Linked DNA regions of Homo sapiens: all the other regions are linked to region 3. Evidence: promoter capture Hi-C in 16 types of primary human blood cells and fetal thymus (Javierre and others, 2016). All regions are on one chromosome and are shown on one strand. The core of a region is centred on a gene start or on the middle of the fragment in contact, and the rest is flanking DNA. Distances in the headings are between cores, read along the strand shown.

The links. Contacts are between HindIII fragments. The CHiCAGO score rates a contact against its expected background, and 5 or more counts as called.
Region 1: a fragment that was not itself captured here is called in contact with the fragment with the promoter of DNASE2B in region 3 in 4 of 17 cell types (M0 macrophages, M1 macrophages, M2 macrophages and 1 more); the score reaches 8.3 in M0 macrophages.
Region 2: a fragment that was not itself captured here is called in contact with the fragment with the promoter of DNASE2B in region 3 in 1 of 17 cell types (M2 macrophages); the score reaches 7.5 in M2 macrophages.

What each region holds. Positions count from the first base shown.
Region 1 is chr1:84,321,528-84,325,960 of GRCh38, reverse strand. It overlaps SAMD13 (sterile alpha motif domain containing 13), which reads right to left. Exons shown (of 4, transcript NM_001134663.2): 3 at 213-324. Among named protein-coding and RNA genes, the nearest start is that of SAMD13, 22 kb to the right of the region's middle. The HindIII fragment of the contact is 645 bases long and covers 1,521-2,165 here.
Region 2 is chr1:84,280,444-84,284,840 of GRCh38, reverse strand. No RefSeq gene overlaps it. Among named protein-coding and RNA genes, the nearest start is that of SAMD13, 19 kb to the left of the region's middle. The HindIII fragment of the contact is 5,301 bases long and covers 1-4,397 here.
Region 3 is chr1:84,397,095-84,401,407 of GRCh38, reverse strand. DNASE2B (deoxyribonuclease 2 beta) reads right to left here and starts at 2,924. Exons shown (of 6, transcript NM_021233.3): 1 at 2,719-2,924. The coding sequence starts at 2,843. The HindIII fragment of the contact is 1,924 bases long and covers 2,137-4,060 here.

The DNA.
Region 1 (4,433 bases), core at 594-3,093, 74 kb after region 3:
TGCCACTGTCTCCGGCTTTGAGTTTTCCCCTTGCACAAAGGGATAATTCACCTGGTACATCCATTCTCCTTCCCCTCAGTTTCTCAGAGCCTCACTGATTCCTCCCTGCTCTTTGGTCCTCTTCCTCCTCACTCCCTTCTGCCCACTGTTGGGAAGGGAGGTAACTGTGGGTTCATCACATGTTCATCACGTGTTTCTCTAGACCAAGTTACCTGTTCCTGAAAAGCACTAGCTTGCTCCTCAAATCCCACGGTTCGGAAATAATTGACGACATCCATCACGGCCCAGTCTGCAGGATCAGGTGGTCTCCCATTTTCCATGGAACTGCAAAACACAAATCCAGACAGTTGTCATGGCAGTGCCTGCACAAGGGTGTGGCCAGGCTCACAAATGGGTCTTCTGGGACAGGCCTTTCATGTTTTTTGGGTTCAGATGATGATTACTCTCACTGGCTTAGTCACTGCTAATAAACCATTTGACATTTAATGTAAATTATTTCCTCTGGTTTTTAATCCAGAGACATTGAGAGTGGTCCAGTGACTGCTGGCAGCCCAGAGTATGATATTCATACTTCTGAGTTCAGAACACCTGGCCTTTTACGATATGACCTCAACATACCGCTCTCTCTTCCTGTCTTCCTAACACCTTCCCTAGCCCCATCCCCACACATCTAGGGATAAAGCCCTTCCACAATAGGCCAAGTCCTTTCATAGATCTGAGCCTCTGCACATTCTGTCCCAGCCACTTACAATGCCCCCACACCTGTCTCTATTGGACAAAACTCTACCATTTCTACCAATACAAAACTACCTCCTCTTTGAAGCATTTTTTCTGGCTCTTCCAAGGGTGTGTTTTAGTCATAACCTCCTTTGACTTCTAGAACTTCATTCAAACTCCCATTGTAGCACCTTCCACACTGAATTATACCCTCTGTTTATTGAACAGTCTCTCCCACTAGAGTGGGAGATGCAGGTTGGAGAAATGCATTTGAGCCCGGACCACTTCTCATTTTATTATTCCTAGTATCAAGTGTGTACTTAGGAACTTAACCCATATTGTTCAAATAAATAAACAGATGACAAGATAACAATCAAGCATTTGTCTGAGTGGGTCTATGGGTAATGCTCCTCATTGGATTCAGAGAGGAGGGAAAGGAGAAGTAGAATAAAGAAAGACTGGTAATGACCTGCAGTTACTGGGACTCTGCCTCATTTCTGCGTTGGGAGTATTTGTCTGGCTTTCTCTATACCTCATCCAAGATGATTTTCCCAGAGTGTACATCCAATCACATAGCCTAACTTTGCTTTGGAGGTCCCTCAGGACAAAGCCTCTCCTCTCTCCAACTAGGAATACACTGGAGAGCAAAACAGACACCACCCTTATTCTTACGGGCCTTACAGTCCTGTGGGGAGTAGACACTGATCAATAATCATACAAGTAAATGTACAGCGGCAAGTTATGCTAAATGCTAAGAAGGACAAGCATCATTTACTATGATAGTTAAAGGGATAGGGGAAGCTTTCCCGTGGGAGTTTCTTTTCAGGTACGATCTAAAAGACAGCCAGAAATTAACTGTATGAAGAAGTCACATGAAGAATATTCCAGGCCCTGTGACAGAAACACATACAGCCAAGGGAGCCATGCAGGTCTTGGAGGCCACACTGAGGATTCTGGATTTTTGCTAAGAGCAATGAGGAGCTGTTGAATGGTCCTATGTAAAGGGGGTGACCTGATCAGATTCACATTTTGAAAAAGAGGATGCTGGAGAGGAGCCAGTGGGGAAGAAGCCAGTGAGAAGTCTATTGCAGTCATGCAACCCAGAGATCATGCGTAGACTAGGGTGGTGTATGTGAAAAACAAGAGGAGTGTGTGGATTTAAAAGAGAGTTAATGAATAAAATCAGTGTAACTTAGTGCTAGACCAGACATAGAGAATGGAGGGAGTAGAAGTGTCATGGAATTGGATGGATGGTGGTAACATCCATCCAGCTAAACATGCTAAATTTGGTGTACTGTCTATATCCAAGTGGAGATTTAATGTGGGCTATAAGTCTACAGCACAAAGCAGAAGAGTGGGCTAGGTACACCTGTGGGAGACAGAGGCATTTAGACAGTAACTGAAATCTTGAGAGAGGAGGAGAAGAGAGCTGGGCCTAGAACTAAGCTTGAGAGGTTCAATATTTAGTGGAAGTTGAAAACATCCAGGTTACTTTTAGTGGAAACAAAATTGGCTAGATTTGGAGAGATTTCTGAAGGTCTTTAAAGGTCTAAGAGTCAAGGATCCAGCCACCTCATCCCCCAGCATAATGTTTTGCCCATAGCAGGAACCTAAAATATTTGATTTAAGAAAACCAAACCAACTTCTGTACTAGTTAAAGGGAGTCACTGATCGATGGCACATGTGATCGTTAATTTCTCAACAGCACCTAATTTAAAAACACCTAAAGCCAATACTCTAAATGTCTTCTCTTTTGGGCTTAAAGATGGTGAATCTATAACCACTGCATGCCTGTATACACACATACCCATATGCACACATGCACACACACAATCTTCCTACCATTTAACAGGCAATATACATCGAGAAGAAAACTATTTTTCACCCTAATGTTACTAAATATTAACTATGTGTTTTTAAATCAATAGTAAATTTTAAAAAAAATTATCTATGTGCTGGAATTTTCCATACACTAGCAACATAAGCAATCAGCAACTGGCACTGAGGACCCTCTTCAAGCTACCATTTTCCTTCCCTCTCTCTTAAGGTGTCCTTGAAGAATGTTCAGAAAGGAGTTCATTGTTCCAACAAATCTTTTCAGTTTTCTAATTAGCTCACTTCTGGTAGTGAACACAGAGTCCCATCGAACACACTTTTAAGTGCCCCCAGAAAACATCTGAATTCAATCTCCCTGTGGTTGACTTCAGTTAGTCGCCTTTCCTCACCAAGAATAGTTATCAGACCTTCACATGTACCCCCAAACCTAAAATAAAACATTTTAAAAAGAATATTCAATTGTAATAACAAAATAAGCTACATTGTAATTTTAAGATGGGAGGCTTTCCTGATTTTTATTCTAGTGGGATATAACATCATGACTTCCATAATTTTGAAATATTCTTGAGTATAGCAATGCCACAGAGAAGAAAGACTTGTAAAACTGCTGGCAGTGTACCATGAATAGCAGCAACGTGGAACGGGGCACTCTTTCATATGGAGGGTAAGGGAATTCACCCAGAAGAAACAAGGGGTTAGAAACCAACCAATACATTTAATGATTGATCTACCTAAGTTTAAAAGCCTGATATCCCCCCAAAGCCAAAATAACCAGGAAAAAAATCACATTAGACTATCGATATCCTGAGAAGAAAAACCTATCTTCATCTTTGTAGCACCAGCACCTAGCACAGTCTGACTGGTGCACAGTTGATACACAGCAAAGTATTACAATGGACTAACAACCAGAGAGCACTTACAACTTAAAATCTGTTTTTCACACGTTACTCAGTATCAGCCTCCCACCTCTTTGTGAACTGGCTACTGTAACCTGCTTTTGGGAAACGAAGGCTCAGAAAGGTTAAGAAACACACCCCAAATAGCATGGTAGATAAAGCTAGGATTGGATTCCGGATATGCTTGCCTCCAAGTCTCTGCTTTTTTTCCACTATACTTATTCATTGACACAACAGATATTTATTAAAAGCCTGTCTTCTCAGTATTATGCTAGATGCAGGGTTACAAGGACAGGGAATGCATAGTCCCTGCCCTCAAGGAGCCGGCAATCTGGTGAGGGAAACCAGATGTGGAAACAGCTAGCTCTGAGGAATATTCGAATCGAGGGGTGAACAAAGTGCTGTTGAGGACGTATTTACGTAAGGGAGGGCTGGTTAGTTCCGCCTGCCTAGAACACTTGAAGATTTTCAATGGCAGTTTAAAAAGGCATTTATTGCCCTCAACACTCTCTGAGCGGGGCCCCAGAGTGGGGATGGCTTGCAGAGGCACGTCTCCACGGGCATAAACCATCACTTCTAGGTTGCTCGTGTTAATGCACGATGGATGATTTCACTGGGCTCTTCCAGTGGTTTCAGCAACAGTTTTAAGGAGAAAGCTGGTGATGATCCAAAATAACATAACAAGCGTAAGCCAAGTGGAAGGGTGTGCGGGGCAGGAGCCAGAGGGCCAAAGCCAGATAACATTTGACATGGGAAGATACTGGAGGATAGATTTAAGCAGCACCATTCTCTGCTAGGAATACAATATGTCTCCCCAAGGACTGATATTTTGTCCAAATTGAGACACTTAGCTTTAGTTATTTCCTTATAAATGGTCCATTCTCGCCACATCTTTTCTTATGACCTATGCATATCAAATTCCAGAGGGAATTTAAATGTCACTGTTTAAAATACCTGACAGGTGGTGGTTCCATTGTGGCTGCT
Region 2 (4,397 bases), core at 886-3,385, 120 kb after region 3:
CTTCTCCTTCCCCTCCTTCCCCTCCTTCTTCTTCTTCTTTCTTTTCTTCTTCCTCAGTGTGGGATCTGTTTTATCATATGTAATAAATGAACATTACTGAGATGATTTAGTTTAGAAAGTTTACAAAATGGGTGATACCTATACTTACTATAAGAATTGGAGTGACATATATTATTAGCTATAAATCGGTTAGAAATGCATGATAATTTTAGGTAGTTGATATGCCAAGATTTATAGCAAAGTATGGATAAGGAAACCGAATTCTCTGTGGAAACCACCGCTAGTCATTGAAAAGTCATCACTGGAATACAGGATATGTCCTGTATTCCATGCCCTCTTAGATTTACAGATTTTTCCAAAAGTTGTCTTCTTTTCTTCCTTCCTTTATTTCTTCCTATCTAGAGGTTTTTATTCCTAGGCAGATGGTATTAAGAAGCAAAATTTGTACAGCCTCATCCCTTTATCCAAAGGTCAAACTTTTGGACATTCTCCAAAATACAGCAGCAGTCTAGAAATATGGAAAGAGGGGCAGGTCTCTGAGCATTAGAAAGAATCATAAACCTTCTGAATTAAAATAATGAAGTTTTTTGTAGAAGGATGACCAGTTGAAGACAAGCTCACTGACAAGGGAAAGATATATTAAACAGCAAATATAAGGTGATATTGGTTTACTTAAAATAGTGGGTATCCTAAAGGAATCAGGCATCTAGGGACAGGGAAGGACCGAGGGATATGTTCCTTATATCCCAAGGTATAAACAATCTGAAATAATAAAAATACAAGTAAAAATATAGAGAGGGGACTTCTCCTACTCTGAAGAACTTAACATGAGTAATAAAATATATAAATCTTTTAAATGCAAGGATAAATTTAAAAGTAAAATATATAATAGAAATATAAATGCAAGGAAGAAGAAAAAGACCATAAAAATGTCTATCATATCTGAAAAAGAACAAAATAGAACTTATAAATAAAAAATAAACAGATTGGAATTAAAAACTCAGTGGAAGAATTAACAGTAGACAAGACCACAGCCGAAGAGAGAATTAGAGAGTGGCAATTATAGACTGGAAGACCTTACACAGAATGCAGCACAAGGAGACAGAAGCTGGAAAATATGACAGAGAGGCTGAGGGACTTGGAGGATAGAGTGAAACGCTTCAATGTCTGTAACCAAAGTTTTTTAAGAGGCAATAACAGAGGAGAGGATGAGGCAATAACTGAAGAGACAATGAATGAGACATTCTTAGAATTGATGAAAGATAACCTCAAATTCCAAAACCCCAAAAGATTCCTAGTAAGACAGATAAATTGAGACACACACACAGAGACACACACACACACACACACACACACATGCACACACACACCCCAAACACATTGTTAGAAAACTTCAGAATGCCAAAGACAAAGATGACATTAAAATTAACTGAAGAGAAAATAAAATTACCAATAAAGGAATGGAAATTAGATAGTTGACTTCTCAGCAACAAAAACATAAGAAGACAGAAGATTGTGGGAAAATATTTTTAATGTATTGAGAGAGTAACTCTCAAATAGAATTATTTACCCATTAAAATTATTGGTCACAATATGTTACATTATGCTTTGGTAAAAAATTAACTCTGAAACCTCTGTGGCCTCTCACATCAATCAACAATTAACTCTGAAACATTTCAAGTTACACATCCAGCATGGGTTGTATGGAGCTCTGCTCACACCATTACTAGGGACTCAGGCTGAGAGAGTGCTGCCCTCTGTAACTCCAACATCCAGGGCTGTAGGGACATGTGAGATCACTGCAGAAGGGAAAGGGGATGCGCAGGAGCACAGGTCCCAGCTGTCTTTGTCTAGTAGTGAAACCTATCACTTCTAGTCATAGTTCATTGGCCAGAATAAGTCACAAGGTCCCAAACTAACTGCAAGGGAGAGTGGGAAATATAATCACATGGATATTCAGTAATACTGACTTTCTCTGCCACAACTATTTTTCAACATGGGGATGAAATAGAGGCTGTTTAGATAAACACTTAAAAAGTTTAACATTAAAAAACTCTTAATAATGGAACTTCTTAGCATGTCTTCAAGCAGAAGGAAAATGATCTGAAAAGGAAAGTCTGAGATACAAAAAACACACTGAGTAAAGTAAAAGACAAACTGTTGGGTAAACATACTGCTGGTGAAAACCATATAAATAAATAATGAAGCGTAACTTGTGGGGTTCAGAAATAATAGCTGGTAAAGTGGAAGTGCTGATAGGCATTAAAACATTCTTAGCTCTTTGCATATTTGGGAAGATTATAAAGATTGTAAATGTAGAGTTTGTTAGGTTTAAGTATCCATGTTCTGATTTCAAAGGAACTGCTTAACAGAAGAGAAGTAAAGCCTATACCTTCAAAACTAGAGGGGGAAAGTTGGGACTTAAGAAATTTAATCTGCCGGGCGGCGCGGTGTCTCACACCCGTAGTCCCAGCACTTTGAGAGGCCAAGGTGGGCGGATCACCTGAGGTCAAGAGTTCAAGACCAGCCTGGCCAACATTGTGAAGCCGCATCTCTATTAAAAATACAAAAAAAGTTAGCCGGGTATTATGGTGACGGGCGTGCCTCTAGTCCCAGTTACTCGGGAGGCTGAAACAGGAGAATTGTTTGAATCCAGGGGGCGGAGGTTGCAATGAGTCAAGATCACGCCATTGCACCCTAGCCTGGACGACAAGAGAGAAACTCCATTTCGAAAAAAAAAAGAAAAAATTAATTTAATCAATTGAAAAGAGGCAAGAAGGAGAAAAAAGAAACAGGAAAGCCAGAAAAAATAGAAAGTTAAAAAACTGATGACAGGAGTAAATTTATCAATGAAATAAACCCAGTTGAAAGGGAAGCTGTGAGATTGGATTAAAAAAAACAAAATCTATTGGATAAAAGAAACAAAATCTATGTTTGTGCTTTCTATAAGAGACATACCTAAGACATTGAGAAAGAATAGTTGAAAGTAAAAGAATAGAAAAATATATTTTAAGCAAATATTAAGAAAAAAGAGTTGGAATGTCTATATATATAAAATGTAAAATAGATTTTATGGCAAAAAAACCTTATGATAGACAAAAGAGATTATTTAATAATGATAAGAGGTTTAACTCCCCAGGTGGAAAAAATTCTAAAGTTTAAAACTTGATAACCTAACTTCAATAAGATAAAGGGGAATTTGACATACTTACAAGGAGATACTGTTGAATTCTCCACTATTGTGAGTCATTAAATATATATATCTCAATAATTGATAGGTAAAATGGAACTAAAGCATTAAGGATATGATTAATTTAAGCAATACAGAAAGCTAATCTACTGAACATATATATTTCTACACTCCAAATTAAGGTATACAAATTAGTTTTGGTTATGCAAGAAACACTACAATAATTTATCATGAATTAGGCTATAAATCAAGTCTCAACCACTTTTAAGAAACTCATCTTAAACACATTATATTTTTGACCACAATTCAATTAATAAAGATATCTTTAGCTAAAAGGTTATGTTTTAAAAATTTAGAAAATTCAGAAACTTTTGAATAACTCATCAATCAAGGAGTAAATCATAATGCAAAATAGAAAATGTTTAGGATCAAACAATAATAAAATCCACTTTACCAACTTCACTAAAACAAATGGTTAAAAGAGGCTTGGAGGGAATTTTAAGTCATAAATGCTTATACTAGAAACTGAGAAAGGCTGAATATTGCTGAGCTAAGCATTCATGAGAAATTATTTTACAAAATAGAATTAATTTAAAGAGAGCAGAAGAAAGAAAATAATAAGGATAAGCCTAGAAATTAATGTAATAGAAAAAAGTATAAAATAAAAAAGATCAACAATGCCAAAATTAAGGTTTTTGAAGAAGTGAGTAAAATTCATTGATCTGGCCTGGTTGAACTAAAAGAAAGGAGAAAGAGGAAGGAGGAAGAGGAGGAAGAAGAAGACAAAGATGACAACAAAAATGTTAGGAATTAAAAAAATTCAGAGAAGTAAAAAAATGGTAAACTAGTACAAACAACTTGGTATCACATTTGAAGATTTAGACAAAATGGTCAAATTATTAGAAAAAAAAGTAAGTTACCAAAACAAACTCGGGAAGAAATAGAAATTCAGAGTCATTGTAAAGTCCTTAAAGAAATTGGTTCACCAACTTTAAAATCTTACACAAAGACCTGGCCCAGATGACTTTATAGGTGACTATTAATAAACACCTAAAAAACATAATTCCAATGTAAGGCACGCTTTCAAAAACTTGAAACAAGGAAAAACACCCCAATAAAAAATATAATGGCCTCATTCCATGGAAAAAATATGTATTATATATAGCACACTATAGAAGGATGATACAAGAGGTAAAAAATGACAAAC
Region 3 (4,313 bases), core at 1,675-4,174:
TTCCTTTACTGTTGTTTTCCATTTGTATATCTCCCTTGGATATCTCACAGGGAGGAGAGGTAGCTCAGCCAAGACAGCATTAAGGCATTATTGGATTACCTAGCTCAGCGTTTCTCAGTGTGCTCTATTCACATTTTCAGCCGATCATTCTTTGTTGTGGGAGCTGTCCTGTGCATTGTAAGATCCCTGCCCTCTACCTATTAGATGCCAGTAGCACTGCCAAGTTGTGACAATCAAAATTATCTCCAGACATTATCAAAAATCCTCTGAGGGCAAAATTACCCTCGGTTGAGAACCACTGATCTAGCCAAATACTTTCTAATAGCATGAACCCCACCATTAACCCCTAAACACTCACAGTGCACCAAACATTATAATATATACACTATTACCATACAACAGTGTCACAAACCCGTAAAAGCTGCACACTCTTCACTTGGTCCCCTTCGGTCTTATACTTAATTTAAGTGAACTCTTTCCTGCCCTGCTTATGCTTTCTTACAGGGTCAGGTCCTCACATGTGGCAGGAAACATGAAATTATTCTTTGGTGCTGACTTGATGGTCTCTTTCCTTACCTTTCTCAATAAATGTTAGCAGCTTGGCAACAAGTTGCTTATATTCTCTCTAACAGACATTGCTAAGTAATATGTCCATTCACTTGTGGCAAAAATGATTTTCCATATCAATCACAATTTGGTGGCCCACCAGTGAAGGGTTTGTGAACTATCAGTGTGCCGTGGCACACCAGTTGAGAGCTAGTACTTTTAAACATTTTTCCTGGGTGACTGTCTCTAATTATGTACTCAAGAGTCCTCAGTCTGTTTCTAGCCCAGACCTTTCTGCTGAGGTCCAGAGAAACCTAAACTCAAAGATGTCCCATTAACCCCCAACTCCGTATTTTTGAAACCAAATTTATAATATTTTGCTCCAAATCTGCTCATCCCACACTATTAGGGAACATATTCATGCAGTCTCAGAAGCAGAAGCCTAAAATTATTTCTTTCTTTTTCTTTCTTGTTTTGTTTTTTGTTTTTTTTTGAGACGGAGTCTCATTCTTGTTATTCAGGCTGGAGTGCAATGGCACGATCTTGGTTCACCACAACCTCCGCCTCCTGGGTTCAAGCAATTCTCCTGCCTCAGCCTCCCATGTAGCTGGGATTACAGGCATGCGTCACCATGCCTGGCTAATTTTGTATTTTTAGTAAAGATGGGGTTTCTCCATGTTGGTCAGGCTGGTCTTGAACTCCTGACCTCAGGTGATCTGTCTGCCTAGGCCTCCTAAAGTGCTGGGCTTACAGGCGTGAGCCACCACGCCTGGCCAACCTAAAATTATTTCTTAACATCTCCCTTTCTCCTACTGGCTGCAGCCCATCCATCACCAAGTCTTCTCAGCATGTCCTTCTTTCTATTTCCATGACCGCTTCTTTAACTCAGGTCTACACCTCTTCTCACCTGTAATGCTGCAAAAGTGCTCCTGGTCTCAGTGATTCTAGGCTGCTCCCCATCCATCCAGCCCTCATAGTACTGCCAATGGGTTTCCTAAAGTGCAAATCTGACCATTCACACCCCTGCGTGAAGTCCTCCAATAGCTCCCTTTCAATGTCAAGTTCAAACCTTGTAGCTCAGCACACAGACCCCTTGGCTGTCCCCACCTCTCTAACCTCACCTCCGGTCATCTTCCTGTATTCTCCTGAAGTTCCAGCAATACCAAACTACTTTGCAACTCCCAAATTTCCATGTTGCTTCTTGCCTCTCTACCTCCTCATTGCTCCTTCATTGGCCTGAGATGCTCTTGCACATCCCTTCTTTTTCCAGCTACTTCTTAATTGTTCTTAAAACTTAGCTCAAAAATTACATCCTTAGAGAAGTTTTCTGGGCTCTCTGTTCCCCAGTGTTCCACCTATGCCCTTACCACATAACTGTGAGGTCCTTGAGGGTAGGAACCATGTTTCGTTCATATTTATATTTTCAAAACTCCACACAGACCTCTGTTGAGCTCAGTAACTGAGGAAAGACTGACTACTGCCTTGAGTATATCTGTGTTCTGTAGCCTGAAGTTTACACAAAAAGCTTGACACCAACCATTATGGCAAACCTAAATATCCCAATTAAAGGGTGAAAAAGTAGTTAAAGCTTTAGGAGAACCCATGACTATAATGCAACACAGCATTTAATGTCTTTGACACTGTACAACAGGCCAGTGGCCTACGTACCAATCATGGCAACAGCTGCCTCTGCTTCCAAACAAACCGATGTTAGGCAAACAGTGCTGTGTGTGACCAGGTCCCCCTTCTCTTTCTCATAAGGAGCAGCACATGCTCCATTTTCAGAAAAAAATAATCTGCCTTCTTTACTCTGTCAGTCTTTCAAAGGATGTTGGAAGTGTTCTGTTAGGAAAAGCCATGATGTAATTAAAAGAAATTGCCAGCTCACAGAAGCTGTCAGCTCAATCCCACTTCTGTGGCTACCAGCCTTGCCCCGCTGAGAACAGTGAATCAGGCCCAAGAGGGGCTGCTCAGCTCTTTTTCAGGGGGAAACTCCGTCACTCAGAAGCCTACCCCTGCCTGGGAGTTTGGCCGATTTGCACACTTTAACTTCCTTTATTTGTAAAGGGAGGAAAGAGAATGGACATTCCCCTTAGGAACTTCGCAGTGAGCCAGGCCAACTCTGTACCGAGGCTGTTTGCATGCAGCAGTCCTTCCATTTCATTTACCTACCAGTCCACAGCTTTCCCTTCTTCATTTCTGCATGAAATTGTTGCTGCCCCCAGCACCCCAAAGAGGCCAAGGAAGAGCAAAGCAAAGGATGTTCTTAGCAGTCTTGCCATCATTTTCTGTTTCATTTATTTCATGCCACAGCAGGACACTTTCCCCATAGATTGTGGAGTCTGAGTTTCAAGGCGCTCTCAGGCTGTGCTGGCTCTGACGTTTGATTTGATTTACCTGTGCTGTTCGCTGTTCGGGGCATTTTCAGAGTGGGATGGATCCCATGTAATTGTGCGATTCTGTCACAACATGCCAGCGTGACTCTGGATGCCTTTGTGCTGAATTGTTGACTGGTTTGCAAAGTCATCAAAAAGTTCTGCAGAAAAATAGGGAAAGATAGTTCACTCTTTGGAGTGAACATTGTTGTATGAAATTCATTGGGCAGGGGGACTTCATTTTAATAAGTAGATGTTAAATATATTTCATGTCTTCTCCTGTTTGACTCAATGAATGAGAGCAAATGCAGGTGGTTCGTACATTAAACAGAAATGATAAAACCTTATGTCTTAGTAATAATTAGGATCTGTCACTTAATAATCTCTGTCTTAAGGAACCAGTTGCTAAGGGATACTTCAAAGGGTTGCTTCAAAGTAACAGTAAATTTAACTGTATTTTACCAAAGATGTTTACATATTCTCTCCATCTTCCTGGTTTTAGCCACTCAATGTGGTGCTTCAGGCTGCTATGCAATAGGTAAACATATTGATCACCCACTCTTCAGGTTAATAAAAAATGTTACAAACATCTATTTTGCCCAAACTATGCTTTCTCATTCTCGAAGCTGAATCTGAAGTAGAAAACCAAAATAAAATGGCCCACTACCATAACAACTATAAAAAGGTGAGACCAATTTCTTTGTGAATCAGGGAAGGAGTAGATAGACATATGAAAATAATTTCTTTAATGCATACTTTTGCATCAATTATTAAAGCTGCCATCATAATAAATAGCAGTTTACATCATGCCTGGAAATAATGCTGCCCCTAATCTGTCTCTCTGATAATCACAATGATAACTATAATAGTTCCAGATCAGAGGATCCAGACCAAACTGAACCCTTGTAAATCAGATTACCTCTGTGGTTGCACTAGAACTGTTCACAATTCTCAGGATTCATAGAAAAGGGGAAGGCTTGTGTCTCTATCCTAAGACAGAGTTTTGGGAGGAGGACTCTGTACCACCTGCCCAATTACCTGTGGTGCCTGCAAAAAAGGCAGAATTCTAGGACTTATTCCAAACCTGCTACATCAGAATTCTTCCAGTTGGGCTCAAGAATCTATATTTTTAATAAGCTTATTGGTGATGCTGGTGTACCCTAAAGTTTGAAACTCACTGCCCTGAGGCCAAGACTATGCTGTATTTGGTAGATTCACAGCTTTCTGCAGGTTAAATGAAGAAATATTTTTCTTACCCATTCCTCCATTGGTATTATTATTATTATTATTTTGAGATGAAGTTTTGCTCTTGTTGCCCAGGCTGGAGTGTACCCACCTCGGCCTGGGAATCCATCCACCTCGGCCTCCCAAAGTGCTGGGATTACAGGCATG